4 separate regions of the Homo sapiens genome follow, and regions 1, 3 and 4 are each linked to region 2. Evidence: promoter capture Hi-C in 16 types of primary human blood cells and fetal thymus (Javierre and others, 2016). All regions are on one chromosome and are shown on one strand. Each heading gives the region's core, a stretch centred on a gene start or on the middle of the fragment in contact. The rest is flanking DNA. Distances are from core to core; before and after follow the strand shown. Region 1 has its middle 300 kb from the start of KCNS3. Region 2 holds the start of KCNS3 (potassium voltage-gated channel modifier subfamily S member 3). Region 3 has its middle 190 kb from the start of RDH14. Region 4 has its middle 280 kb from the start of KCNS3.

What was found. The method cuts DNA at HindIII sites, captures the fragments that hold promoters and counts their contacts. A CHiCAGO score of 5 or more calls a contact.
Region 1: a contact is called between a fragment that was not itself captured here and the fragment with the promoter of KCNS3 in region 2, in 2 of 17 cell types (megakaryocytes and M0 macrophages). The highest score is 5.4, in megakaryocytes.
Region 3: a fragment that was not itself captured here is called in contact with the fragment with the promoter of KCNS3 in region 2 in 1 of 17 cell types (endothelial precursors); the score reaches 6.1 in endothelial precursors.
Region 4: a contact is called between a fragment that was not itself captured here and the fragment with the promoter of KCNS3 in region 2, in 4 of 17 cell types (fetal thymus, megakaryocytes, M1 macrophages and 1 more). The highest score is 6.9, in fetal thymus.

The regions. Positions count from the first base shown.
Region 1 is chr2:18,172,218-18,178,318 of GRCh38, reverse strand. No RefSeq gene overlaps it. Among named protein-coding and RNA genes, the nearest start is that of KCNS3, 300 kb to the right of the region's middle. The HindIII fragment of the contact is 2,477 bases long and covers 3,250-5,726 here.
Region 2 is chr2:17,875,089-17,880,925 of GRCh38, reverse strand. It overlaps KCNS3 (potassium voltage-gated channel modifier subfamily S member 3), which reads right to left and starts at 2,259. Exons shown (of 3, transcript NM_002252.5): 1 at 2,120-2,259. LOC124907737 (a long non-coding RNA gene) reads left to right here and starts at 4,364. Exons shown (of 2, transcript XR_007086226.1): 1 at 4,364-5,561. RefSeq lists silencers at 2,139-2,188, 2,279-2,478, 2,489-2,648. The HindIII fragment of the contact is 4,070 bases long and covers 1,151-5,220 here.
Region 3 is chr2:18,370,389-18,376,385 of GRCh38, reverse strand. No RefSeq gene overlaps it. Among named protein-coding and RNA genes, the nearest start is that of RDH14, 190 kb to the left of the region's middle. The HindIII fragment of the contact is 352 bases long and covers 1,951-2,302 here.
Region 4 is chr2:18,150,934-18,156,916 of GRCh38, reverse strand. No RefSeq gene overlaps it. Among named protein-coding and RNA genes, the nearest start is that of KCNS3, 280 kb to the right of the region's middle. The HindIII fragment of the contact is 1,993 bases long and covers 3,685-5,677 here.

The DNA of each region.
Region 1 (6,101 bases), core at 3,239-5,738, 300 kb before region 2:
CTGAGAGCTAAGAAGACCGTTAAGTGTTGGAGCCATGTAAAATTGCATTTAAATGTCAATGCTCCCTTTAATTGTCAGAGCTCAGGCAAGTCACTTTACCTCTCTCTTTGCCTTCATTTCCTCCCCTGTAAAAATACTTCCCGACACTCAGAGAGATAGAAAGTAGAAGGATGGTTACCAGAAGCTAAGAAGGGCAGTAGTGGGGCACGGGGAGGGGAGTGGGGATTAATGGGTACAAAACTATGGTTAGAGACCGGATGCCGTGGCTCATGCCTGTAATCCCAGCACTTTGCGAGGCCAAGGCGGGTAGATGACGAAGTCAGGAGATCGTGACCATCCTGGCTAACACAGTGAAACCCTGTCTCTCGAGGCGGGCAGATCACGAGGTCAGGAGATCGAGACCATCCTGGCTAACACGGTGAAACCCTGTCTCTACTAAAAATACAAAAAATTAGCCGGGCATGGTGGCAGGCGCCTGTAGTCCCAGCTATTTGGGAGGCTGAGGCAGGAGAATGGCATGAACCTGAGAGGCGGAGCTTGCAGTGAGCCGAGATCACTGCCACTGCACTCCAGCCTGGGTGACAGAGTGAAACTCTGTCTCAAAAAAAAAAAAAAAAAAAAAAAATTAGCTGGGCCTGGTGGTGGGCGCCTGTAGTCCCAGTTACTTGGGAGGCTGAGGTAGGAGAATGGCGTGAACCCGGGAGGTGGAGCTTGCAGTGAGCCGAGATAGTACCACTGCACTCCAGCCTGGGTGACAGAGCGAGACTCCATCGCAAAAAACAAACAAACAAAAAATTATGGTTAGAAGGAATAAATGAGATCTAGCATTTGATAGCACAACAGGGTGACTATAGTCAATAGCAATTTAATTGTACATTTTTAAATAGCTGAAAGAGTATAATTGGATTGTTTGTAACCTAAAAGATAAATGCTTGAGGTGATGGATATCCCATTTACCCTGGTGTGATTATTGCTCATTGCATGCTTGTATCAAAATATCTCATATACCCCATAAATATATAAAATATATACACCTAGTATGTAATAACAAAAATGAAAAAAATATACCTCCCAGCGTTTGAGAATAAAAATTAACAGTAATAATTATGAAGCAATGTTTCAGATTCTTACGTAGCCTTATTGATTTACAAATGCTTGCTACAAACACCCAGCTACTGGTTTAACAGTTTATCTTATGTCTCTATTATCTTCAAATTAGAGGCCAGATCTGGATGGGTCCAGCTGGTGGGGCATGGATGACAAGGAGAAAAGAGCATCTGAGAAGGGCATATTGGCAGCCAAGTGAGATGCTGACAATGAATATATAAGACAGCTGCAGTGCAGGACTACTTAGAGTAAGAAGCAAAAAGGAGGTCATCTCAGAGTCATGACGAATGGGTCAAATTATATTTTCTTTGAGCTGATAATAAGAATGAGAAATGTGTGGTTAGGAATGATTTCTATCATAGATGAGATTTTTAAAAATTGTACTTAGCATGCTAAGTTTCTGCTTTCTGGTGTACCCATTTATGGAAATACCTATCTGTTATTGCTCCCACAAGAGGAGTCATCAGAACAGATGTTACTCTAACATTTATGAGCTGAGAGTTGGATATTGTGTTTAACTTTGATAGTTTTCATGTATCACCAAATGGAATCTCACTTTTTCAGAGTTAACTTCATCCAACACGATTCATTTTAAAAGAACAGAAATTTCCATTGTTTTTACAATTGTTGCTATTGTTTTAATTAACATTTTAATTTAAGTGGGCACATTTCACATATGGAACTCAATTCTCTTTCCAGTAGCCTAAGGGTTCTTAAACTGATGAGAAAAATCAAATCTATTTAATGTGGACAGGATTAAAGAGCTGTTACAATAATATTTTCCCAAGGGCTTTTGGTAAATTTAAAATATTAATTCTGGTTTTATCATATATATACATATTTTTTGAAATATATTTGGTAAATATATAAATTATGTTAAATAATAAATGGCAAGATGTATCTAAAAAAGGTTGTGTAGCATTAAGATTTATATAAAATGAAACATATGAAATGTAATATAAATACATACAACATAATGCCCTACATCTACTGCCCACCTACTTTGCAAACACTGCACTAGCCACTATAAGAGGAGGGTTACGCCAAATATTAAGAGGCTATTAAAAAACAAACATAATCAAGTAAGTTTGAGAAACATGAAGTTAAACAGAGTTAGAGCTCCCTTTTTAAAATTTTTTTCATAAGTTATTGGGGTACAAGTGGCATTTGGTTACATGAGTAAGTTCTTTCATGGTGATTTATGAGATTTTGGTGCACCCATCACCCAAGCAGTATGCACTGCACCATATTTGTAGTCTTTTACCCCTTGCTCCCCTCTCACTCTTCCCTCCAAGTCTACAAAGTCCATTGTATCATTCTTATGCCTTTGCGTCCTCATAGCTTAGCTCCCACATATCAGTGAGAACGTACAATGTTTGGTTTTCCATTCCTGAGTTACTTCACTTAGAATAATAGTCTCCAGTCTTACCCAGGTCATTGCAAATGCTGTTAATTCATTCCTTTTTATGGCTGAGTAGTATTCCATCATATATATATACTACAGTTTCTTTATCCACTCATTGATTTATGGTCATTTGGGTGGGTTCCACTATTTTGCAATTGTGGATTGTGCTGCTATAAAAATGCATGTGCAAGTATCTTTTTCAAATAATGACTTATTTTCCTCTAGGTAGATACGCAGTAGTGGGATTGCTGGATCAAATGGTAGTTCTACTTTTAGTTCTTTAAGGAATCTCCGCACTGTTTTCCATGGTGGCTATACTAGTTTACATTCCCACCAGCAATGTAGAAGTGTTCCCTGATCACCGCATCCACTCCAACATCTACTGATATTTTATTTTTTGATTATGGCCATTCTTGCAGGAGTAAGGTGGTATTGCATTGTGGTTTTGATTTGCATTTCCTTAATCATTAGTGATGTTGATCATTTTTTCATATGCTTGTTGGCCATTTGTATATCTTCTTTTGAAAATTGTCTATTCATGTCCTTAGCCCACTTTTTGATGGGACTGTCTTTTTTTACTGATTTGAGTTCATTGCAGATTCTGGATATTAATCCTTTGACAGACATATAGATTGTGAAGATTTTCTTCTACCTAGCTTTTCAGTGCATTCAGTGAGTTAATGCGAGTTGGAAAGCACTTAGAGAGGCCATAGTGAGTGTGCAACATTTCCCAAGCTTATTATATCATGGACCATTTCTCCCTGGAGGAGCATATTTTGGGACCAGGGTTTGGCAAATGATATACTGGGAACTCGCACTGCAAAGGATACCACAATGGTGAAATCACAGTCTCCTTCCACCGGAGGCTCATAGAGTAGATGATGAGACAAAGACCCAAATAACTATAATAAGAAGAAACTGCAAATATTCTAAGATACAAAGTTCTGAGTTCATCTCCCTGCAACATTTATTAAACATAAATGTAAGAGAACTGAGTTGATATTTTTTCAAGTTTGGATTACAAATTGTCTTTATTAGACTACCATTGAGGCAGGATATGGTGGCTCACACCTGTAATTCCAACACTTCGGGAGGCCAAGGTGGGAGGATCGCTTGAGCCCACTAGTTTGAGACCACCCTGGGCAACATAGAGAGACCCTGTTTCTACAAAAAATTTAAAAGTTAGCCAGGCATGGTGGCATGCACCAGTGGTCTCAGCTATTCAGGAAATCGAGGCAGGAGAATCGCTTGAGCCTAGAAAGTCAAGGCTGCAAGAGCCATGTTCGCACCACTGTACTCCAGCCTGGGTGACAGAGAAAGACCCTGTCTAAAGTAAATAAAGAAATGAATGAACTGCCATTGACTCTCTGCCAAGCATTTTACAAATATAATCTCACAAAAATATCTACAAGGAGAAAATTATTTTCTTTACTTTTCCTGAAACCGATGGTGAAAGAATTATAGTGTCCAGATTAGTCTTATACATCTGGTCCCCACAAGACCTAGGATTTGTTGCTGTGTCTGCCTGACTCCAGAGCTAGAGCTCTATCCATGCCCACCTGTAAAATGCTACTATTTTTCCATAAATTACACTTGCATAATTGAAGAATTACTGAATTATATGAAAGTTCAAAAATACCAAGAAATAATATTGAACCATTCAGGCAAGATCAAACGAAAATGCCTTTGCACTAAAGTTTAATGTTTAACTGTAAAAACAAAATAGAAGAAAACCTTTAAGTTCTATTTTCCAATGAAATACCTAAACAAGGAAAAAGGGAAGGCCATATTAATATAGTGATAGTCTGCTAATAGGAGAAAGAGAGAAGTAAAATGCACATATCAATGAGAGCCTAGTTCTATGTCCAGTCACCTTTCCAAACCTTGATCAAATTATTTTAATGTTTTTCACTTCTATGGTCTATTTGCTCTTTTTGAATACCAGCATCATATCTGAGTTTGGAATACCTATTTCTTTTCAGCTTATTCTCAAATAGAATAATTCATGAGATAACCTCACATATAGATTTCAAGTGTGCACTATGCCCATTTGCCTCTGCTAGGTCAGAATTTCAGTAACTTTGTTCATCAAGAGACTGGAAATCTAAATGTTAAATGTCTCCAACCACTCAAAGTCTATGCTTTAGTTTCTATGCTTCCAGTCCTGCTTCAGTTGATTAGGTTCAAAGTGGATGAAGGGGGTAAAAATTAAGGATTTGGGCATGGAAAGATTAATGGTACTTCAGTAGTCTTTACTGAATTAGAATTATAAATCTCCATTCAAAGCTAGCTTTCTTAATATGTTTGTAGCTACCACAGAGGTATTGTTTAAGATCTGCACTGGGAATGTATAAACTTCTATCCAAAATAATATGACTACAATGAGACCACAAATTCTAGTTCAGTGTTTCACACACAAACATACAAAGACACATAATCCTCTTAAAAATATGAGATTTAAAATTTTTGACCACAGCAAAGGATGTTTTATGGTTTTTCAAGCTGCCTAAATGTGAAATAAAACCAATATTAAAATATTGTAAAAAAAAAATCTAAAACCAATCAATCCGCAGTCAATAGCTTTTCGGTTCAATACTTTTCTAGAACCAGAGTAGGTTGTGGTGAAAGGAAGCTGAGAAAAAAGGGAATGAATTTAGCTTGAAAATTTGCTAAGATAACAAATTACCATATTCTCCAGAAACTTCACTGAAAATTAGCATTCTAGCCTTGATCCAGGGGAGGAAAAATGTACCACAGCTGCTTTATACACATCTATGTCTGTGTTCAGTAAAATATGTTAGGTACTTTAAATCTGCTTATGTAATGTTGGCAAACAGATATTTTCCCCATATTACAAATGTAAATGCTAATATAAAATTGATGCAAACTTTAGCTGAGGCATTATAGATCTTTGTGGTCTCCATTTCTGTGTGAATCCCTCTACATTTAGCTTCTCTGGGAGATATTTACAATCTCAGCTTCAACCAATGGGTGGCATCATGTGGCCTGCAATTGTGCCAAGGAAAATCAGCTAGAAAAATGCATTTTTTCTCCTGCTCAGTTAATTAAGAGGATAAGTAAATACCCAAAACATTGCAAAGAGCATGCTCCAAGGCTCACCTTCAACTTTACTTTTCCTGGGAAGCTGCCTCCTTCTTTTCACTTAATCTTAGCCAAAAGGCCGAGAAACGATGCTTCCTTCTTTTCTAAAGCTTTACCATTTTTCTAAAATTCTTAGATCTCTTTTTCCCCCAGACTCATTTATTCCTTATAGTCTACTCTCAAACCATTTCATGCGTGTCAGTTGTGCCCTCCCAGCTTCACTGGACATTCAAAGCTTCATCACTGTATTCTTAACCAGAGTCCTCCGTGCTACCTAGAACAGTCCTGGATGCATACGAGTCTCTGATGGCTGCTTTTTGGTTGATTCTCTACCCCAAGTTCCCTATCAAAAAGGAAGTCTCCCTACTCCTACAATCCCCACACACACATACAGAGGCAATCTAGCCTCCAGAAGAAGGTATTTCCCCATCACTTTTTTAAAATGTAGCACTGAAGTTAGATTTGGGGAGCATTCATGACGTGTCAC
Region 2 (5,837 bases), core at 1,010-3,509:
AAATGCCAGACACAGGGCAGATTGAGATGGGTGGTAGAACAGAGGGATGCACGTCTGTGAAGAATTACAGTGAAGGGCAAAACCCACTGAAGACAGGAGGGAGCTGCAGTTCCCACTCTCCCCCTTCCTTCTTAAAAGAAGATGATGATACTCAGTTGGTGCTTTGCTGGCAAACTCAAGCTCCAGAGCTTTGGATTTTTAATATTATAATATTTCAGAACAGAACAAAGACTGCTTCTGACCTCCCAATTTGCCCTCATACACTTGACCAGCAAAACCTTAGCGTAGCTGCATTCATCAATGGCTCTATTCAGGCAATTATGGGTCAGACAAAAGATTCAATTAATACTGATCCCGCAAGTCTCCTTAGTATATTCACAACATGCTTTGGATTCAGAGTTCTATGGCACCTTCATATGACCTTCTCCGGATCCCAATATTGACAATTCCTAGTTCAGAAACGACAAACATAATATTAGAACAAGAGAAGAAGGGAAGCTGGTGAGAAAGAAAGAACAGACTAGACTGGGTGCAGAAATTATATCATCCATTTGCTGTCTGTCCCCGAGTGCATCCTGGGGCCTGGCCCATGGCGGGCTGGTTGGAAATGCATACTGAACGAGTCAATCTCCTCAAGAAGGTCACCACCCAGGTAAGAAGTGGAGCCTGCACATTACACCAAGTTCAGCTAGAGAATCAAAGCCACCTCTTCGGCTCCAGATATGCAGGGAAGACAAAGCACGAGGGCATATGCCTTCAGCTAAGAGATAGGTGCGTGCTTCCTGTTTACCTGGGCAGGTATTTGCAAATAGTCTAAGAAGGGGGGCAACTAGGAGTGACTTACACAGTTCCAAGTGAATGGTTACGCAAATCGCTTGAGTAAATACAGGGAAAGAAACAGGAAAGGCTTCTGAACTGTTTGTACTCATCTGCTCCAGTATTTTCAGAGGGTAGGGTGAAAGACAAAAAACCCGAACGAAGGCTCCGGGCCAACCACAAAGCTACTCTCCGGCAGGAACGTAAGGAACACCTACCGCCCCTCCCCCCACTTCACGCCTTGGCACCAAACCAGGGCCCCTGGGTCATTTTGGCAGGTGGAGGTAGCTCTTTGCTGTCCTCTGCCCCTGCTGCGGGCCACCCGAGTGAAGCTTTCGGCTCGGTCTCCCCAGACAAAACCGGGGGGAGACATCAAGAATGCAAAAGGTGCTCCTTTCTCCAAATGAACGAGAAGGGACAGAGCGGGGTTGGGGGTGCAGGACAAGCCCTGCAATGCGAAAGGCGCCCAGCCAGGCTCGCCGCGGCCCCTGCCGGCAAGACTGGCTCGCTTGCTAGCCAAGGTGCCTCAGGAGGTCGGGCAGCCACCCAGAAAGGCGCGAAAAAAAAAAGAGGAGTTCCTGACCCCGGGGTGACCCTTCCCCACCACTGCCACTGATCCAAACGCAGAGTCCGCAAGTGACTCCACACCTGCGCTGCAAGCCTCACGCCGTCCCCACCCAGGGCGCAGCGCTGCACGAGAGCAAGGGCCCTGGGTTCGCTCTTCCCTGCAACTGTCGCGGGGCGCCTAGCACAGCTGCAGGGCAAAGGGGAGGGGAGGAATGACAAAGAAGGCGGAGCAGACGGCCCGGGAAGCATTTACAAGCGCCAGGAAAGCGCCTCCTCTCGAGGAAGGGAAGGAACGGCTTCCCGGCCAAGGAAACGCCCCGGGGATGCCCCTACGCGAGGTGCCGCCTTTCTTCGGCTCATCGATTCTCCCGCCTCCAGGTGGTCCTCCCCCTGACCATAGCCCACCCCACTCCCCGAAAGCTGATCCTAAATACCTTCCCCGAGGCTTTCAAATCAACCCAGCCACCGCTTCAACAGCCCGCAGTTCACGCAACAGGCGGAGCCTTAGGGCTCCAGCGACGGCGGGCTCTGGGGACCAGAGGATGCGGGCGCCGCGGGCCAGACGCCCAGAAGGACGGAAAGTGCTCTGCGGCCGTAGACCCTCGGGGTCGTGCACCCGCGACCTGGACCACAGGAGACTGGGGCAGCAAAAGGTGGGGGAAGGCGCGGTAAAGTTGCAGGGTCGCCCGGAGAAGTCTCCGGAGCGCGCAGGGAGGTGGGGACGCCAGCCAGGTACCTGCAGGAGTCCGGACGCATCCAGCTAGCTCCGCTCTGCGACGCCGCCTGCCCGCGCTGCAGGGATCAGGCCTCGCGGCGCGGCCCCGCGCCTGCCGCCGCGGCGGCGAGGAGAGCGGGGTGGCCCGCGTCGGCCGGTCTGTCCGTCGGTCCCGCCCCGCTAGAGCGAGGCTCCCGGGAGCTGCGGGCGGGGCGGGGCCGGACGGGACGGGGCGGGGCCCGCCGCTCGGCCGCCGCCCCATTGGTCGCAGCTCCGCCAGCCCCTCGCTTCGGGCCCGCAGCCGGGCGCCCCGGGCCGAGGGCGCGGGCGGCTGAGGACTGCGGGGCTCCGACCGCCAGACAGGCGGACAGACCCATAGACCTAGATGCTGCCCTGCCGGCCGCGCGCCCCCGCCCAGGCCCAAGTGCAGAGTCACCCCGGAGCGGCAGGCGCTGTCCGGGTGGGACCAGGAGCGCGCCCCGCGCCTCCCACCTGCGCGCCCTCCTGGGCCGGAAGCGCCGTGGCCCTGCGGGAAAAAGATGACCTCCCCCGCGGCCCCGGCGGCTGGGGCAACCGCCTTTCTAAAGTCGCGGCCCAAGCGACACTTTGCTAATTTGCCTGGATTTCCTCAGGAAATCGCGAGGCCCAAACTTGTTTTAAAACAAAGTGCGAAGGAGAGTACATATAGCTCCAGTTCCTGCCAATGTTTGCCATCGGTCCCGCTGCCTGAAGACTCAGGCACAGTGCAGAACAAGATGCTTTGTCTTATTCCTCCACTCACCGAGTCAGAAGAGGTGCTTGGACATTTGCACCAAGCAGATGCGCCTCATATGTAGAAGAGGAACCAGTCGGGTCCCCTTTCGGAAGGACGAATGGAAGAGGAAGTCAGGGGACGATGCCTTCAGCCGACGTTGAGGAACAAACCAGGACCTCGGCGAGGACAGCGTGTGGTCCAGAAGGCATCGCTGGCCTCGCTGCACTGAGCGAGAGCGCTCAGTTAACAGCCAGGAGGAGAAATGGGACGCTTCGGGACCCACCCCCGCGCTCCCCCTCCCGCCCCCAAACTGCAGATTTTTAAGTTGTGCAGACGTGGAACAATTCCTCGGAGCCAGCTGCTCCAAGCTAAGGCGCCCAGTGTTCCCTGGGTTCCTACCCGCAGCATACGCCCTGCCAGCTGCCCCCAAGCCAGCACCCGCTGACCACTCACCTCAGGCAAGCACCTAGGAAGACGATGCAGATTCAAGCTCCAGACCTTGAGCCAAGCGCTGGGGAGGGAATGGGGGCAAAGAGATGGTGGAAAACACTTTCCTGAACTTACTGAATACCCTATGTTATGTGTGGGTTTTCTAATTGTTCTTTGCTTAATGAAAAACCCACGTTGGAAATCAGAAAAAGGCAGTAATCCTCACCGTATCTTGTGGGCTTCAAAGAGGAGGTTTTCCCCTTAAAGGGAGTTTTGGTCCAGAGGAGAGGCTAACAGCAGGCAGGAAGGGCAGAGGAAAAGATAAAGCCTAGGGTGGTCTTCCCCCTGAGGCCTGGAGCCCACCAAGCTCCAACAGTTTCATTTGGCTTCTGGGAAGCAAAGTACAGATGCATGTGTCTGCAGAGCACTGTTCTGAGCCATTTGTCCCTAATTCCATGGTTCTTTGGTTCCTCCAATCTTGTCTCCTCTCCTGTGGAAGAGGATCCAAAGCATTGGTCCACACTGCTATTTACAAGTGGCTGAAGAAGGTAACTTTCTTACATAGTTCATCTTTAGCATAAGCTCTAAGATTGTTCTAAAAATATATTTACATTTTATCAACACCTTAGAAGAATGCTTCCAGATCTCTCCCAGCAGTTACCTATTTAATCATTTTAAAATCACTAAGTTTATCCAAAAAGTCCAGCATGGTTTACTTGAGAAGGAAATATGTTCAGAATCTCTAAGCACTGCAGAAGGCACCTGCAGTGCAGAAGAGTTGGCAGTGAGGTCTTTCTCCTGGGGTCTGGGCGGAACATGTGAGCAGTCGGGAAGGCACACACAGTGGGAGCCAGTAAGGGCCCCTGTGCATCTGCAGGAGCTGAGGACAGAAGGGGTGGGCCTCCACGGTGGGCATGTAGGAGTGGGCACAGAGAAGGGCCACAGATCTGAGACAGAGACAGACAGGACTTCTTACCCTGCTGAGCCCTGCAGGGAGCCACTTCGTCTTTCAGCCCTGATTTTGTCATCTGTAAGGAAATTTCCTCTCTCCCAGGGTAATCATGTGAAGCCAATGAAATAATAAAAAGGACCACATCGGATGACCCCTGAGGCAGGTCTGCTCCCCAAAAGTTTACTCTTGAATGTTGACCAAGGTTGAGCTAGGCAAAGTGGTAAATTCACACACACGGTATGTAGCCCCTTCCCCAACCCCAGTCTCCATTACCGGGGGCATGCTGTGAACTAACTGCCTCCTTTTCCCCACACACCCACTTCCTGCCCAGTCTTTATGCCTCCCGATATGACATCCCGTTCCCTCTTAATTAACTGTGCCTATAGAGAAACATCTAGATAAACCATGCATTTAATCTGTGAGGGGTCAATCATTTAATCATCGTTGACAATAATGCTCACTCCTCTGTGGTTTCAGAGGACTCCTGGAGTGGATGGAGACACATGCCACTAATGTGGGATGCATTTCAGTCTGTCTTCCAGGCCTCGTTTGGAGGTCTCCCTCTCTTACCCACCTATCACACATCCATGTCTTCCCTTCCCTCCCCAGAGCCAAACCTGTCCCCGACTTTTTATTCTCACTAAAGTTCAAATGACAGAAATCAGCTAGATTAGTACTTGCCTTAGTCCTGAAGGAAAGGGAAGTGCTCATTAGCTTCTTAAATTGGAACAGGTCTGCAGGTGAAAATGAAGATGTGCTCATCTCTGGCAGGAAGGTTGGGAGTGAGGGGTATAGTCATAATGAGCAGCGTTTATTTGGTGTGTGCCTCTCACTTGCCACTTTCTACCCAGCTGCCTGAATATCACTCCAGTTAGTCTGAGCACATGAAACACCTGCAACTCCCCAGACCCACCATGCTTTTTCTTGACTCTCTGAATGCACAGCAGTGCCTCCTCAGCTAAGAACACAGTTCCCCATCACCAAGCTTTGCTTTGCCCAACAGACCCCTTCTCCCTTAGGATGAGATTCAGTGGATAATCACATCATAATCACGACCCTCTGGGAAGCCGCCTCTCTCATCCTGGGTTGTGTGTTGTGTGTTTCCTTTCCACACTCCCTCAGCAGCCTTTGCCTCCCACTTTCATAGAATCTACCATATGGGATTTTAACTGTTTGTCTTCCACTAGACAATAAGCTCCTTGAAGACTGAATTTCCAGGAACTTCTGTTGGATCTGCATGTTTGTGAAGTGAATTACTGAAGGCTGCCCAGTTTCATCTGATCCTAGTCAAAACCTAAATCCCTTATTTCTACGCTACCTTTTGCCAGGTAAAAATAAAACATGTAAACCATCATATCGCTGTCTTTGCTTGGCTGCCAGGAAGCTCAGAACTAAATTTACATTAAATTAAATTTAGTTCTCAATCAGCTAGAATGTTTTTATTTCAGATTATTGCTACAATGATCATGCTCTTTTCACAAAATTATTGTATGCTTACTCTAACTGCCCTGTGGTATTATTTTTATATCAAAAGTTTCTTAAGGCCGGGTGCAGTGGCTCACATCTGTAATCCTAGCACTTTGGAAGGCCAAGGCGGGTAGATT
Region 3 (5,997 bases), core at 877-3,376, 500 kb before region 2:
TGGGACTGCAATTCTTTCTTCTATCAAAGCTTTGTAGAATTAACCTGTTTATTCATTTGCACCCTGTTTGATCCTTGTGGGAAGACCTGAAGCACTGATTTAATTTTTTAATAGTTATAAAACCCTGCAGTTTTTCTATATATTCATAAGCCAGTTTTTATTATTTATTATTAGTATTCATTTTATTTGGCTGTATATGACAAAACAAAACAACTTTAAAAAACAGGCCCCTGCCCTTCAATGTATGTAGTTTCACTTACACAAGATAAATAAATTCTAGAGCTCTGCTCACAATATTGTGCCTACAATTAACAACATGGCATTGTGCACATAAACATTTGTTAATAGAGTAAATCTCATCTTAAATGTTCTTGTCATGATCAAAAAAATAAGGCTTAAATAAAATAGAAATTAATTTCTCCCTCACATAAACATAAACTCTCCAGGACTGGTATAGTAGCTTTGCGATGGGTAGAGCCCTAAGTTGTTTCTTCCATGTTTGCCCTAGAGTTTCCAGGATACACTCACAACCAATCTTAGTCCATTACAAGCATCACTATAGCACTTCCTGGGTAGTGCCAGTGCCTTGTAACAGAGTATTCTCAGTGTCTCTCTTTCATCCCCAATACCCTTGCTGTCATTTTTCTCATGTATTCGTATGCTATAATGATGCAACACATTGCTAGCTATTAATACTCTAAGGAATTAATTAAGAATGAGGAAAATAAAATATTTTATTTTACCTTCATTTATCCCTTCTCTGATTTTTTTTTTATTCTTTATGTGGACCCAGGTTTCTAACTTCCATAATTTCCCTTCTTTCTGAAGAACTTCTTTTAACATTCCTTTCAAGGCAAGTCTATTGCTCACAAATTCCCTCAGTTGCTGTTTGTCTGAGAAAGTCTTTATTGTTCCTTTACTTTTGAAGGAAAATTTCTATGGATAATAATTGTAGCTTGGTGGGTTATTGTCACACTTTAAATATTTCACTCCAGGCCGGGTGCGGTGGCTCACGCCTGTAATCCCAGCACTTTGGGAGGCCGAGGTGGGCAGATCAGAAGGCCAGGAGATCGAGACCATCCTGGCTAACACAGTGAAACCCTGTCTCTACTAAAAAATACAAAAAAATGAGCCGGATGTGGTGGCAGGCACCTGTAGTCCCAGCTACTCGGGAGGCTGAGGCAGGAGAATGGCGTGAACCTGGGAGGCAGAGGTTGCAGTGAGCCGAGATCGCGTCACCGCACTCCAACCTGGGCAACAGTGCAAGACTCTGTCTCAAAAAAAAAAAAAAAAATTTCACTCCACATTTTTCGTCCTTGAATGCTTCTTGAATAGAAGTCTTATGCGATTTGTATCCTTGTTTCTTTTAAATAAGGTGTTTTTATTTTAGGGCCACTTTCATGATTTTCTCTGTCTTTGGTTTTCTGTAATTTGTATATGGTATACCTAGCTATAGATCTTTCAGCATTTATCTTGCTTGGTGGTCTGTGAACTTTCTAGATTAGGGGTTGGGTGTCTGGCATTAATTTTGGAAAATTCTCGGGCATTATTAACTCAAATATTTCTTCTGTTTCTTTTTCTCTTTCTGGTATTCCCATTATATTCATGTGATATCTTTTGTAATTATCCCACAGTTATTGGATATTCTGTTCCATTTTTCATTTCTTTTTTCTCTTTGCATTTCAGTTTGACATCTTTTCAAGCTCACTGACTTTCTTCAGCCATGTCTAGCCTACTGATTAGCCTAGCAAATAAATTTTTAAAAGTCTTCTGTTACAGTGTTTATTTCTAGCATTTCCTTCTGATTCTTAAAGTGTCAATCTTGCTTCTTAGATTAACCATCTGTTCTTGCATATTGTCTGCTTTTCCATTAAAGCCCTTAGCATATGAGGGGACTTCAAAAGTTTATGGAAAATTTGAATTCAACAATAAAAATAAAAAATATAAGCTTTGTTTTCTAACATAAACTCCATCAAGGTCCAGACACTTTTGTAAGCAATGATACCGGCCACTTAGTCTATCAATAAAAAACTAAGGGCCCTGGGAATTTAACCATGCCAATGTAGTCTATTTACTTTTTTAATTGAAGAGAAATGGGTGCCCTTTATAGGTATTTTAAGAGTAGGAAGCAAAAATATGTCAGAAGGAGCCAAATAGAACTATAAGCTGGGTGCCTACAAATTTCCCATCAAAACCCTTGCAAAACTGCCCTTATTTGATGAGAGGAATGAGCATTGTCACTGTGGAGTAGCACTGCAGACAGTAGCATTGTCATGGTGGAGAAGGACTCTCTGGTGAAGCTTTCCCAAACTTTTTTTTTTTTTTTCTTGAAGCTTTGGCTAACTTTCTCAGAACATTCTCATAATAAGTAGATGTTATCATTATTTGGCCCTCCAGAAAGTAAGCAAGCAAAATGCCTTTAGTATCTCAAAAAATTGTTGCCACGACCTCTGCTCTTGACTGGCCCACTTTTGTTTTGACTGGACCATTTCCACCTCTTGGTAGCTATTGCTTTGATAGTCCTTGGTCTTCAAGATCATACTGGTAAAGCCATGTTTCTTCTCCTGTTACAGTTTGTCAAAAAATGCTTCAGGATCTTGATCTCATTTTTAAAAATCCATTGAATGCTCTGCTCTTACCGCAGCTAATTTGGGTGCAGTGGTTTTGGCAACCATCAAATAGAAACCTTGCAGAACTTTAATTTTTCAATCCCAATTGTGTAAGCTGAACCAATTGAGATGTCTATGGTGTCAGCTATTGTTTCTGCTGTTAATTGTCGGGCCTCTTCAATTAGGGTATGAATAAGATTAATTGTTTCCTCTCAAATTGATGTGGATGATCTGCTGTGGGCTTCATCCTCAACATTGTCTCATCCCTTTTTAAAATGAGTTGTCCATTTGTAAACTGTTTTCTTTGGAGTACTGTCCCCATAAACTTTTTGTAAAGCACTAGTGACTTCACCATTCTTCCACCAAAGCTTCACCATAGATTTGATGTTTATTCTTGCTTCAATTTTAGTAGAATTCATGTTGCTCTGATAGGGGCTCCTTTCAAACTGATTCTTATCCTTCTTCGAGTGCCTCAGGCTAGATCCTGTTCTGACATGTTGTAAAAAGCCATTATGAGTTTATTTTGGTACAGGCAATTTTTGGAATCCATGCACAGTTTTCTCATAATATGCATTTTTTGTGAGCTTTTTGAAGTCCCCTCATATTAAACATAGTTATCATAATTTCCCTATATAATGATTCCAAAAGCTGTCTCATCTCTAAGTCTGCTGCTTGCTTTCCCTCTTCTTGTGTTTTTCCTTGTCTTTCAGCATGCCTTGCAATTTTTAATTGAAAGTGGGCATGACATATTGGGTAATAGGAAATGAGGTTAATTAGGCTTTTAGTGTAAGGTTTTATGTTAATTTGGCAAGGAGCTTCAGTGTATTTATTTGTTGTAGTTTCAGGCTCCAGAGGTTTTGGTATCCTCCAGCTTCCTTGTATATTTTGTTTTTTTTTCTCCTCTGTTGTTTGGGTTTCCCTAAGAACTTCTTCATAAATACAGTCCATGGCTTGCTGTTCTCTGTTGTAATTCATTTTTATTATACTGGAGTCCTGTTTATGTTATGGTAAGCTGCTGAGAAAGAGAAGCATTGTATATTCTTATGATTAAATCTCAGTTTTTTAGTGGGCCTGAGTTTCCAGGCTGTGAGCTTTAGAAGCATTTCTTGGGCTTTTTTTTCCCACCCTTGCATGAGACAAGAAGGCTAGAGAGGTCGGAAAATGTCTAATTGCCTTTCCCCAAGATGTGAAGCAGTATATTGCCCTAGAGGACAGGCTATTGTTACACAGAATTCTCTGATAATATTTCAAAATGGCTTCTTTTTTGTTGGATGTATTTCAGAATGTATTTTTACCCACTCCTCCTGCCTGCAACATAGGAGATATTTCTCTGATCCTCACTTTGAGAACCTGGTGGGTGTTCTGGTGGCAAACCAACCACCCAACCACCCAACCACCTGTTAGGTGTTGGGGACCACCTAACACTGGGTTCTTTAGGAGCATTCAAGTATCAAGCTAGTATACTCTCTACCTTTAGCAATTCATGAAAATTATTGTTTAGGTGGTCCTACCAGTTACTGAGTGCAGTTCCTTCCACTCTTGGGCTAATCTTGGCTGTGGTTCTTCATATGTGCCAGTCTCTCCAAATGTCAGGGTAGTAGTTTGCCCTGTGATCTTAATCCTCTGATGGATCACAGAAATGACATGGATTTTTAGTTTGCTTGGCTTTTCTTCTTCTTGTGATGACTAGAGTGATGACTTCCAAACTGTTTACATGCTGAAGTTGAAATCAGAGGTCATACTTTTCCTATTCAATCTGACAATCTCTGTCATTTGATTGGAGTGTTCAGACCATTTATATTTAACGTGCTTATCCATGTGGTTGGGTTTAAATATATCATGTATAAATTTTTAAAATTTAAACCATGTCTTCTTTGCTCCTTTTTCCCCTTTTCTGACTTCTTTGAATAAATTATTTTTGTAATCAATTGTATCTCTGTCTTGGTTTATTAACTATACCTTATTGTTTATTATTTAGTGATTGCTCTAGGGATTACAGTATTGATATAAAATTTATCACATGCTAGCTTATAATATTTTACCACTTCACTTACCATGTAAGAGCATTACCACAATATAGTTCCATTTTCCCCTTTCCTTATCTTCTGTGCTATTATTGTCATTTAGTTTACTTTTACATATATTTTAAACCCTGTAATACACTGTTATTATTTTTAAGAAATTATCTTTTAAATAATTTTAAATGAGAAAAATATTTCTTATATTTATCAGTCTACTCAATATCTTTAGCACTCTTTATTCTTTTATATAAATTAGAGTTCCCTTTGACATCATATTTCTTCTTCCTAAAAATTTTCTTATATATTTCTGTAGTGTATATCTGCTAAAGTTGAATTTGCTAACCTTTTCCTTCCCTGAAAATAATTTTTCACCATTATGTTTGAAGAATATTATTCACTAGGTATTGAGTTCTATGTTGAAAATATTTTTTTTCTTTCAGCAGAAATATGTTATTCTATTGTCTTCTAGATTTTATAGTTTCTGGTGAGAGGACTGTGATTATTTTCAGTTTTGTTCCTCTTTATGTGTCTTTCTTCTAGTAACTTTTAATATTTTCTCCTTATTGCTACCTGTTTTTAGCAATTTGACTACAGAAGCTCTTTGACTTACAATGGGATTATGTCCTGATAAGGCCATCAAAAGTTGAAAATATTATACATTGAAAATTCATTTAATATATAGTAATTCCTCAGTATCTGTAGAGATTTGGTTCTGGGATTTCCTGCAAATATCAAAATCCACCAATACCCAAGTCCCTTATATAAAATGGGACAGCATTTGTCTACAACCTATGTTCATCCTCCTGTATACTTCAACTCATCCTTAAGTGACTTACAATACCTAATACAATACAAAGGCTGTTAAAATGGTTGTTATAAGATATTGTTTTATTTGTATTTTTTTGTTGCTGTAGTTTTTATTCTCTTTTATTTTTTCCCTAATATTTTGAAACCGTGGTTGGTTGGATCTGTGGATACAAATAATCACAGTTTAGCTTGGCCTTCCTAAAACATGCTCAGAAAACATACATCGGCTTACAGTTGAGCAAAATCAGATGGAAAGACAGTACACTGCAGAGCAGGAGTCATTTGCCCTCATGATCACATGGCTGACTGGGAGTTGTTGCTGCCTGCCACTGCCCTACATCATGAGAGGCTGTCACATTGCGTATATCTAGCCTGGAAAAGATCAAAATTCAAAAAATACAGTTTTCATTGAATGCATATCACTTTTGCACTATCGTAAAATTGAAAAATAATCATAAATGGAACCATCAAAAGTCAATGACTAGCTCAATTTTCAAAACGTGTTGTTTATGGCAGAAGGTACATCTGTTCGCAGTTAGTGCATTACTGCATGGTACCAT
Region 4 (5,983 bases), core at 3,432-5,931, 270 kb before region 2:
ATAACTAGTGATCCCTAGAAATAATATGATCTTCCAGAGGTTCTGGCATTTCATAGTACTCTACTGAGCAACAGATTTAAATAATGTAGATTTTACAATTAAAAAAAACCTTTTTTATTTCCAGTAAATTAAAGGGGAGTTAAGGAATAGAAGCAGGGCCACTCTGAGCAGTGTGCTCAGCTAGAATCCAGTCAGCCCCCACCCTCCCTTGACTCTGACAGCCACCAGTATTCTGTTCTCTTGGCCACAGTGGACACAGTGAATGGGTCGGAAATCACAGCCTGGGGCAGTCCAGGCAACCTTCTCCAGCAGATAATGGGACTTACACACAGCTCTGACAGGGACTAGCAAGGCCCCAAGGCTCTCAGCTCTCACTGGAGAACCTGAAGTCAGTTCCAGAAGGGGAAGACTGAGGCAGCCTAAATTAGATTCAAATTGCTCTGATTTCATATCCTTCTTAAAACATTCAAAACCAAGAGTTCCGAAAGTATGGTGCCCAGACACGCAGCATCAATATTATCTGGGAACTTGCTAGAAATGCAAGTGCTTGGCCCCACCCTAGACATGCAAAATCAGAAACACTGCAAGTGGACCCATCAATCTGTGTTTTAACAAGCCCAGCAGGGGATTCTGGTGCTTGATAAAGGCTGAGAACCACTAACGTGGTTTGGTGGCTTTGGACAATTTCCTAACCCCTCTAAACCCCAGTTTTCCTCACTGGCAAACTGAAGATAATAAAACCTAACCTCAAAGTCCTGTAAGGATGATGGATGTAAAGCACACTGCACAAAAGAACACTCAATAAATTACATCATCGTGTTCTCCCTCAGGACTCTTAAAAATTCTATACCCTCTCTGCAAAATTTCAACTTTTTTCTCTTTAGTACACTTAATTCTTTGCCTGATGGAAACAAGGAATAAGCATCTCTGTTAGATTGAACAAAATAATATATTGGACACAGGTAAGTAGATAGAACATCCTGCTAAGAATATTTCATTTTACGAAAGAAAGTGGTATGATAAGGTGGAAAGGACCCTGGACCAGATGTGAGGAAATTGTGTTCCAGCTCCAACTCTGTGTGTGTCGAGAAATTTGGAATTATGTAACCCAGGGTTCAAATCCTACCTCTGCCATCACAGTAACATAGCGGGTATGTTTCGAGCACCTCACATGCTCCTGCACATCACACTGCTGGTCAGAATGTATGAGGTGGCACCTGTTTCCTGCCCTTTATCCTATTTGTTAATCTTTGTAAGGAGGAAAAAGATAATGGGCAGGTTTTATCAGGGAGGTATTGTCCCCTACACTCCTCTCTTTTCAGGTGGTGCTTTTCATCTTAACTCCTTTTTCCCGACTTTCCTGCATGTGACGTCCATCAGCTTTGCAAATGGCAGGCTTGCCCAAAGTTCCTCTGCTCCCCAAATTCAAACATCAGGGAATGTCCCTGCCCCTACACAGCTTCTATCAATCAGAAGGACAGCTGTACCCGATACTCAGATTAACCAGTTAAAATCATGGTCAGAGACCTTTAGCCTTCAGTGGCAGTTTTCTGTTCTCCAGATACTCTACAACTGGCCCAGATGCCGCATCGTTGAACATTCATGACTATGTTTGTGACAAGAAATGGGCACGCTCAGTGGGACTCTGCTGTCACCAAGGCCATCATACCCCTAAACCCCATCTTCACTGATAGGAATAGTTGTCCCTGGTGCATTCATTCCCTACAGCTGCTGTAACAAAGTACCACAAACTTGGTGGTTAAAACAGCACAATGTTCTGGGGATCAAAAGTCTCATATCAGTTTCAGAGGCCTGAAATCAAGGCACCTGCAGGGCCCTGCTCCCTCTGGAGGCTCCAAGGGCAAATCATTTCTGTGCCTTTCTCAGCTTCTAGAGCTGCATTTCTTGCATAACTGGCCTGTGGCTCCTCCCTCCATCCTCTAAGCCAGTGGTGTAGCATCTGACTTCAGTCTTCATGTTGCCTTTTACATCTTGTGATGGTTAATATAGAGTGTCAACTTGATTGGATTGAAGGATGCAAAGCATTGTTCCTGGGTGTGTCTGTGAGGGTGTTGCCAAAGGAGATTAACATTTGAGTCAGTGAACTGGGAGAGGTAGACCCATCCTCAGTCAGGGCGGGCACCATCTAATCACCTGCCAGCACAGCTAGAATAAAGCAGGTAGAAGAACGTGTAAAGACTAGACTGGCTGAGTCTTCTGGCCTTCATCTTTCTCCTGTGCTGGACGCTTCCTGCCCTTGAACATCAGACTTCAAGTTCTTCAGCTTTTAGACTCTTGGACTTTACACCAGTGATTTGCCAGGGGCTCTCGGGCCTTCAGCCACAGACTGAAGGCTGCACTGCCGGCTTCTCTGCTTTTGCGGTTTTGGGACTCATACTGGCTTCCTGGCTCATCAGCTTGCACATGGCTTACTGTGGGACTTCACCTTGTGATTGTGTGAGTCAGTCCTCCTAATAAACTCCCCTTCACATATTCATCTATCCAATTAGTTCTGCCCCTTTAGAGAACCATGACTAATACACACCTGTAGTCAAACTTCTCTCTGCCTCCCTTTTACAAGGACAATGTGATTCTATTTAGGGCCTATCTGGATAATCCAGGATAATCTCCCCATCTCAAGATCCCTAACTTGATCACATCTACAAAGTCCCTCTTGCCAAAAAGGTAGCATTTGTAAGTTGCAGGAACTAGGACTTGGATATTGCTGGAGGCCATTAGTCAGCCAACTACATTTGGTAACAAATGTCTGTTCTGTTAAAATGAGAAATCTCCTCTCCATTAAGTGACAAGTAGTTGTGAATGTTACTTTTACTTCCACTGAGTCCATAAAGGGGAAGCTTTACACTCTTGGCTTCCCATGGTAAAAAACATTCCTTAACATCTGGGCAGGCTTGAGTGGCAAGGCAGGTGCAGCCCTTTCCCATCTGCTCTCATGCCAGGTTTTCTGCCTTGAAAACAGGGTTAATGAAGCCTTGTCACAGCAAACAAAATTAGACAATGTGTCATAAGGACCTATTCCAGGGCTTGTAGACAATAAACACTGTCTCTCTCATTTGCCTTCCTGGCCTCTAATTTCTGTCTGTTGAAGACAGAGGTTGTTCAAGATGACCTCTAGGACCCAGCAGACCTGACACCGTGTCACTATAACCCCTCAGAAGATGGGGATGCCTTGCCCCTCTGCCCTCATTCTTTACAAGACACAATACATTGCCAGCCTGGCCCCTTCTATATTCCAATTGCACCTGTCACAGGGCCTGAGGTGACATCCTTCTTTCCAAGATCATAGGCTGACTTCTGTGTTAGCCTTCTTCTCTCTTTTCCTTTCTTCTCCTTCCTCCTCTGATCTTCTAGTCTCAGAAGTATTTGAAAGAGGAAGAGTAGAGATCTCTACTTCCATTCTTACGAGGGTTTTAAAAAACAAATTTTAAATGAAAAATCAACCAGCTTGAATAGGTAGATTGGCCGGCTAGAGATATGTTGTGTTTTTGCTTTGTTCTTTTTTCTGCCTTTCTGCTGATGCAACTCAAGCTATTCATAATTTTGGAAACTGATAGCACACACTTCAACAGAGAGACTACAGTGAGGAACAAATCATTTGTATTAAGTTGCATAAACTCTATCTTCCAGAACATCATCCTTATCTGTCCTCACAACGCTCAAGCTTAACTAGATGCTGAGGATCTTCTGGCTGCAAGGGATGAAATCAGGGCTTACCATATATTTCCTACATATCAAAAAGATACCTACACTCATAAGTCTATTGCAGCACTATTCACCATAGCAAAGATATAGAATCAATAGATTAATGGATAAAGAAAATCTGGTACATATACACAATGGAATCCTACCCAGCAATAAGAAAGAATAAAATAATATTCTTTTGCAGCAACATAGATGGAACTGGAGGCCTTTTTCTTAAGTGAAGCAACTCCAAAACAGAAATCCTTGTAATCTTCAATCCTGCCACCTAAATAACATGATCCTCATTTGTAAATGAGGACACAAGACTCAGAGTCATTAAAATACTTGTTCAGGACCCTACAGCTTAGTAAATGCAACATATGAATTGCTGTGGGTGCAAAAGCAGCAGATGGAGAGTCACAAGGCCAAGGCTCCACTCAGCTTCCCCACTCAGTCAGTGTGTGGCCATAGGAAGACCACTCTCCCTTTGGGACCCAGTTTTCTGTTCTGACTTTGCTCAGGGTGATCTCCAGGTCTCCTTCATAACCAGGGCTCCACAGTTATAATTCTATTATGATATGATGCAAACACAGAAAGAGAAAGGAAAAAAACACAGATCTACCTCAGGAACCCTCAGAAAATTTTTACTATGCATATCCCAGCCACCTCCCAGGGGATCTAGGGGAAAAAATGATTATACGCTATCTGCCTCCTAGGCTCAGAGGTACTAGGAGTATTTAAGGCAATAGGAAAATTAAAAGAAGGAAGGTTGAGAATGAAAATGTTGAGAACGGAGAAGAGAACAGAGAATAGAAAGGCCAAGAAACATGAAGAAAGGCCTTTACCAGGTCAGGGAGAGCCTGCAGCCCTGGCTACTCAGAACCCTCCCTAGAGCTAGCAGTGCTCTGACCTTAGAGCAAAGTCAGAGGTGTCTGTCTGGGTCTTCTCATGCCCATAAACAGGCATGCACACATATACACACATACACATGCACACAATCATAAAGACATTAATTCTATATAAACAGATTTCATATTAACTGGCAATCTTGTTTCTGAGACATGCTTTACAAATGATAGCAAAATGCATTTGTAAATTCTCCATGGGGGCAGAGCACTCTGTCCCTGGCTGCAGCAGTGGCAAATCAGACTGTGTCAAGAGAAGGCCTTGGTCATGGTAGAGTCGCCCAGCTGCCCAGGCCACATACACTCGCACCCTCCTCCCTCAGATAAGCAGGGACCTGTGACCTGCCTTCACTGGCTATCATGGAGAGGAAAATAGGAAGTGGGCAACCCATTCACCACATTAGGAGTGAGAATAGCCATGTTGACCAGGGTAGGGCTAAGTTCATGTTAAAGATCCTGTATGAGTTTGCTGGGGCTGCCTTAACAGAGTACCACAAACTGAATGACTTATACAAGAGAGATTCAATGTCTAAAGGTTCTGGAGGCCAGAAGTCCAAAATCAGGTTGTCGGCAGGGCTATGCCCCCTCTGAAGGTGCTGGGGAAGGGTATGTGCCAAGCCTCTCTCCAACCTTTTGGTAGTTCCTTGGCTTTGTGGCAGAATTCTAATCTTCACATGACGTTCCCCTGTGTGCATATCTCTGAGTCCAACCTTCCCTCTTTAATAAGAACACCAGTCATATTGGATTAAGAGTCCACCTCCTTAACTAATTATATCTGAAATGAGCCTTGATATGGTTTGGATCTGTGTCCCCACACAAATCTCATATTGCATTGTAATCCCCGGTGTTGGATGTAGGGACTGGTGGAAGGTGATTGCATCATAGAGATGGATTTCTCATGAAATGGTTTAGCACCATCCTCTTGATGCTGTTCACAAGATGGTGAATGAGTTCTCACGAGATCTGGTTGTTTAAATGTGTGGCACCTCTCCCTTCACTCTTTCTCTTGCTCCTGCTTCCACCATATGAGACATCTGTTGCCCCTCTGCTTTCCACCATGACGAGAAGCTTGATGGGGCCTCCTTAGAAGAAGCCACTGTGCTGCCTGTACAACCTGTGGAACCATGAGCCAACTAAATCTCTTCTTTTTAAATTATCCAGTCTCAGATATTTCTCCACAGCATTGCAAGAACGAACTAATAGAAGCCTGTTTCCAAATAAGGTCACATCCTGGGGTACTGGGGGTTAGGACTTCAACATCAATAATTTTAGGAGGATCCACTTCAACCCATAACAAATACCTTCCAAGGAATACAAACCACAACCCAGTTCTCTAACATAGGAAATAGAAGTTGCACTGGCTGATTTCTAAGGGC